Regions from separate parts of the Homo sapiens genome. Here region 1 is linked to region 2. Evidence: promoter capture Hi-C in human tissues and cell types (Jung and others, 2019). All regions are on one chromosome and are shown on one strand. The core of a region is centred on a gene start or on the middle of the fragment in contact, and the rest is flanking DNA. Distances in the headings are between cores, read along the strand shown.

Region 1 (3,126 bases), core at 334-2,833, 410 kb before region 2:
CCTACTCATCCAGAGGAGGAAGGAATGTTAATGAATGTTTCCATTGGTTATCACTTTCCTTCCATCTGCCTGGGGCCGGCAGCAGGATGTTTAAATTATGATAAACAAAGTTGGATGACTTGTGTCCCTGCAAATAATGGATCAAAAGCCCCTATTCATGCAATCAGTGGAAGAACATTTCAATCTTTGGACACTATTAAATACCTTGAGCACGGCTATGTTATGACACATCGCCAGATTAATAAATATAAACCTAATAAGAAGCCCTGCCCTAGGAAGGCCACTAAATGGTCTGGAAAGCTAGAGGTGCTAACCTGGGAAGATTGTATTGCAAACAGCACTGCTGTACTGCAAAGTAATTCCTATGGAATCGTCATTGATTGGGCCCCTATGGGACGCTTTGCAGTAAATTGTACTGGACAGTGCGAAGATGGTAGAGAGACTCCTTTTGCAAACAACTACCCAGATAATGCACCAAAATTATATAGAAGAATTAAAACAAATTAACCTATTAAGTGGGAGGAGAACGGTATGGCTCTTTCAAGCCCAAAAATGATTGATCCAATTATAAGTCCAGAACATCTAGAATTGTGGAAATTAATGATGGCTCAAACCCCAATTCGGATTTGGAAAGGAGAATATAAAACAAAGACCCTTAGTAAAAAAAACTTTGATTTGTCGTAGCCATGACCTCTAATCAGACATTCCCATTGCAGAGTTTTGTTAAACCTCCTTTTATGTTGGCAGTGGGAAAAATTAATATCCTAACTGACTCTCAAACCATATCATGCCTCAACTGTCATCTTTTTACCTGCATTAATTCTACCTTTAATAAAGATAATAGCATTTTACCGGTTAGGGCCCAAGGAGTTTGAATAACTGTTTCCCTCAATAGACCTTGGGAGGCCTCTCCCTCCATACATATTATCACGGAAGTACTAAAAGGAATACTTAATAGATCAAAGAGATTCATATTTACTTTAATAGCTGTGATCATGGGCCTTATAGCTGTCACAGCTACTGCTGCTGCTGCTGGTGTTGCTTTGCACTCTTCTATTCAAACAGCGGGCTTTGTGGATAGTTGGCAGAAAAATTCTTCTAAGCTTTGGAATTCCCAAAGCCAAATAGGTCAAAAATTGGCAAATCAAATTAATGATCTCTGTCAAACAGTAATTTGGATGGGAGATTGGATTATGAGCTTGGAGCATAGAATTCAAAAACAATGTGACTGGAATACTTCCGATTTTTGTTTTACTCCTAGCTCTTATAATGCCATTGAACACCAGTGAGAGACGATTAGACGTCACCTACAAGGAAAAAAAGATAATTTAACATTAGATATTGCTAAACTGAAAAAACAAGTTTTTGAGGCATCTCAGGCTCATCTCACCCTATTGCCTGGAGCTGATATTCTTGCTGGAGCCTCTGATGGCCTTTCTAATACCAATCCTTTAAAGTGGATTGAAACCATAGGTGGATCAACAATTGCAAATTTTATTTTGGTTTGTGTCTGTTTATGTTGCTTGTTTTTAGTCTACAGATGCAGATGGTGCCTTGGGAGAGAAACCAGACACCATGAATGAGCCATAATAGCAATGGCAGTTATTAATAAAAAAAAATCAATAGAGGCAAAAAAGGGGAACATGTGGGAAAGTGTTTCTGGGGTGCCAGTTGAGTTGGTCTCCCCTGTGTGAGACACCCATGGGAAGCCATGGGCAGCCTCTGGGGAGAAAAGTCTCCTTATTGCTTTCATGTCTTTATGCCCCAAGAGCATAACCACTCAGCAGCATTCCACAGGTTGCTCAGGGAGACAACACTCCCTTGAAGCAGTGGAGTATAATCAAACATCTTGGCTCCTCCTTAAACCCGCTCCCACCCATTTCAGTCCTGATAAGCTAAAGATCTTAAGTAGTTTAGACACACGCCTTTGCTCAAGGAAATTCACAGAAACCGCCACTGCTACACATCTTATGGAATGACTCACGAGTTCTCCTTCACTGATTAATCCTTTTCCTCATCCCTTCCTCCCCCTCCCATCTGCCCTAAGAACAAAGAGCTTGTAAACCAGTAAATTTGGCAGAGCTCAAGAGCTCTGGGCCGTGAGCAAGCCTCCGATATTCTGGTCCCCTGAACCCGCCTTTTAAATGCTTATTCTGTCTCTTTCTAACTCCTATGTCTCCACCAGACTCAGGGTACCCACTGGGTGGTGTGGGGCTGGTTTCCCTAACATTCCCCACCAAATAAAGCAGCTCCAACCTTCTAGATGGTTGCTCAGCTCAGAAGTCTTAGAGAAATTCTGATGCCTCTCCTCACATTTGCTCTGTCGGCAAATCCTGGTGTCACAAGAGGGCTCAGGAGGGTTTCTGGATGCCAACGAGACCCCAGCCACAGCCGGTCCCCAGATTCTTGACATCATCACAAGAAAGAATTCACAGGTGAGTCAGAATGAAGTGAAATGCAAGAAGCTTTTATTGGAAAGCAAAAGTCTGCACTTAAGAGAGAAGTGGGTGCATGCTCGTGAGAACGAGTCACGCAAACAGAGTTTGGGTTTCTAATTTTATTTGGTGTTTCTTTAATTAGGGGGTGGAATAATCATTAGGTATTCTGGAAAAGGAGGGGACTTCAGGGACCCCTGAAATTGCCCATGCTAGAGTGTTGTGGCACAATCCTAGCTCACTGCAACCTTGACCTCCTGGCCTTAAGTGATCCTCCTGCCTCAGCCTCCTGAGTAGCTGGGACTACAGACGTGCACCACTATGCCTGGCTAACTTCTAAAAATTTTTAGTAGAGACAGGGTCTCATTATGTTGCCTAGGCTGGTCTTGAACTCCTGGCCTCAAGTGATCCTCCCACCTTGGTGGGAGCCTGCAATTACAGGCATGAGCCACCACACCCGGCTTCTGCTTTATTATTTTCCAAAGCACTCGTCCCTGCCTGACACATTATAGATGCATGTGTGTCTTGTCTCTACAATGTGGGCTCCCAGAGGGCAGGGACTTTGCTCTGTTCTGTTGTCTGTTGTTGAATCCCCAGTGCCTAGGATGGTGCCTGGCACATAGTAGGTATTCAATATCTATTGAATGAATATGGTCCCTGGGGCTAAAAGTAAGAAAGGAGAAAAAAATAA
Region 2 (3,185 bases), core at 82-2,581:
TTTTTTTTGAAACAGTCTTGGTCTGTCGCCCAGGCTGGAGTGCAGTGGCGCAATCTCGGCTCACTGCAACCTCCGCCTCCCGGGTTCAAGCTATTCTCTGCCTCAGCCTCCCAAGTAGCTGGGATTACAAGCACCCACCACCACTCCTGGCTAATTTTTGTATCTTCAGTAGAGATGGGGTTTCACCATCTTGGCCAGGCTGGTCTTGAACTCCTGACCTCGTGATCCACCCGCCTCAGCCTCCCAAAGTGCTGGGATTACAGGCGTGAGCCACCACGCCCGGCCCTACATCCTTGGTTTCAGTAAATCTCTATTCTAAAACTGAAAAAGAGAAAACATTGCAGATAAAACTTTACAGCAGGGTCTTGTGTTTTGTTCAGGACAAGATTCGTAAGCTCCAAATGCTACAAGGAACCCTGCCTGAGTGCTGGCAACTTTTTTATCCTGACTGGGCAGCCGTTGTACATATTTCTGTAGAAATTCATGGAGCTGTATACTTTACTGTAATTCTACCCGATACAAAAGATTATAATACTTGGCTGGCTACCATTTATTGTGACTGTCTAGCCACAATGCCAGGCACTGTGCTAGACACATCACACGATTCTCAGCTAATCCCCGCCCCATTCTATTCCCATTTTACTGCTGAAGGATCTGAGGCTCAGAGAAGGCAAGCCACTTACCAAAGGTCCCACAGCAATAAACAGACAAGGCAGAATTCGGTTTCAAGTTGGTCTAACTGTATGTGAAGGCTGAAATGTCCGGGAGGCAGGCACCTCATACCAGAATGTTAGGCGTGGAGGGGGTGCTCAAATCCTTTCATTTAACAGCAGATGAGGCTATTGAAAGACTGTCTCGGTCAACAGCTGGAAGACAAACCCACCACGGTCCAGACTGCAGTTCTCGTGTCCTTTTGGCCCGGCTGGGTTCCACTGGATTGGATGAGGACGCGTTTGTGGAGGGAGCAGGAATAAGGAAGATCTCCTTCCCACCTGCTGTTCCCCAGAGCCGGGAGCACCCGGCGTCGGGGGTGGGAGGGAACAGCGGCCAGGCCGAGCCTCCAGCACCCGGCTCCCTCCGTGCGCCCTCGGACCCCAGGGGCACCGTCCCCGCGCGCGCTCCCTGCCGCCCTACCTGGATGGACCGCCGGCTGCCGGCTGGGCCTGCCGGGCTGGAGCGCACTGCCGCTGGACTCGCTCATGGCCGCGCCCCGCGCTCCTCAGAGGCTGCCGAGGACCCTCTCCAGCCGCCGCCGCCGCCGCCGCCTCCCCGGCCTTCCCTCGCGGAGCCGGGATTCCAGGTTCCGGCGCTGACATCACAGAAGCCGGAGTGGGGCGCCCCCGCGAGGAGCCGAGCATCAGGGACCGCAGAGGGGCTGCAGAGCCCGGGAGATCCGGCAAGGCTCCATCCAGCGGTGGCGACAAGCAGCGACCTCCCTGATGTCTCACTGAGCTTAAAAAATAACAATAGATTGGGCGCACTGGGAGCCCAGTCTCCACCAGGACCCGGTACACCCATGTAACAAACATGCACATGGACCCCCTGCATCTAAAATCAAACCTGATCTAATAAAGAAATAAATAACAAAAATAACTGGTTGGGAGTGGTGGCTCACGTCTGTAATCCTCGCATTTTGGGAGTCCGAGGCTGGAGGACCGCACGAACTCACAAGTTTGAGACCAACCTGGCCAACACAGTGAGACCCCCATCTTTAAAATTAAAAAATAAAAAGTCCACACGCAAAAAACCCCAAGACTCCAAATCAGTGCATCTAGTAAGTTACCATTTGGGAACAAAAAGGAAACCAAAAAATATATTTGTACATGCTTGTAAATGCCTAAGCTATCTCCCTAGAGGGTGCAAAAAACTGGCTACCTGTGGTAGCTCTGGGTGGGGAGCTAGAGGGCCGAGTGAAGAGAAAACCACGTGCAGTGTTTGTCTTTTACGTTTTGCACTATATCCTCGTTTCATCTCTACCTCTGTTCGTGTGCAGGTTAAAAACATAAAATTGCCAGGCGCAGTGGCTCACACCTGTAATCTCACCACTTTGAGAGGCCGAGGCGGGAGGATCACCTGAGGTCAGGAGTTCGAGACTATCCTGGCCAACACGGTGAAACCCTGTCTCTACTAAAAATACAAAATTAGCCTGGCATGGTAGTGCATGCCTGTAGTCCCAGCTACCAGGGAGGCTGAGGCAGGAGAATCGCTGGAACCCAGGAGGCAGAGGTTGCAGTGAGCCGAGATCACGCCACTGCACTCCAGCCTGGGCGACAGAAGGAGACTCCATCTCAGAAAAAAAAAGAAAAAGAAAAGTAATTGCTAAATATAAATAAATGGGGAAAATGGAGAGAAATCTCCTGTGCAGATTTTGAAATCATTTACGTAGATACTTTAAGGATGGGGAGCTTAGCTCCCTACTCCTTAAGTGTGAGTTGCCCATAGCGACATCCTTCCAAAAGAGTGCAGTATGGAAGTGGTGGTGGAAGAGGGTGAGGGTGGGTTTTATATTAGATAATACCTGACAAACACTGTCTCAGACAGATGATCAAAGTTAACATCATCCGGGATCAGTGGCTCACACCTGTAATCCCAGCACTTTGGGAGGCCGAGGCAGGTGGATCACTTGAGGTCAGGAGTTCGAGACCAGCCTGGCCAACATGGCGAAACCCTGTCTCTACCAAAAATACAAAAAAATTAGCTGGGCATGGTGGCGGGCGCCTGTAATCCCAGCTACTAGGGAGGCTGAGGCAGGAGAATCTCTTGAACCCAGGAGGCGGAGGTTGCAGTGAGTCGAGATTGCACTACTGCACTCCAGCCTGGGCAACAGAGTAAGACTCCATCTCAAAAAAAAAAAGTAAATAAGTAAATAAGTTAACATCAACATTAAGCCATGAGGATGGTGTGCACCCTTCCTACGATGGGATGAGAAGGGCACTTTACCTCTGTGGTCATAAGAAAAATATCAGACAAATTCAACTGAGGGGCATTCTACAGAATACCTGATTAGTATTCCTCAAAACTGTCAAGGTCATTTAAAAAAAAAAAAAAAGGAGGCTGGAGACTGGGTGTGGTGGCTCATGCCTGTAATCCCAGCACTTTGGGAGGCCAAGGCAGGTGGATCGCAAGGTCAGGAGTTCGAGACCAGCCTGGCCAAGATGGTGAAACCCTGTCTCTACTAAAAAAAA

The links. The method cuts DNA at HindIII sites, captures the fragments that hold promoters and counts their contacts. A contact is called where the count stands out against the background at its distance.
Region 1: a contact is called between a fragment that was not itself captured here and the fragment with the promoter of TMC7 in region 2, in 2 of the 25 tissues and cell types used here (mesenchymal stem cells and ovary).

Annotation. Positions count from the first base shown.
Region 1 is chr16:19,392,685-19,395,810 of GRCh38, reverse strand. It overlaps LOC105371114 (a long non-coding RNA gene), which reads left to right and starts at 2,079. Exons shown (of 3, transcript NR_188657.1): 1 at 2,079-2,435. RefSeq lists an enhancer at 1,382-2,581. The HindIII fragment of the contact is 3,858 bases long and covers 1-3,126 here.
Region 2 is chr16:18,982,080-18,985,264 of GRCh38, reverse strand. It overlaps TMC7 (transmembrane channel like 7), which reads right to left and starts at 1,331. Exons shown (of 16, transcript NM_024847.4): 1 at 1,135-1,331. The coding sequence starts at 1,201. RefSeq lists a silencer at 1,361-1,420. The HindIII fragment of the contact is 36,131 bases long and covers 1-3,185 here.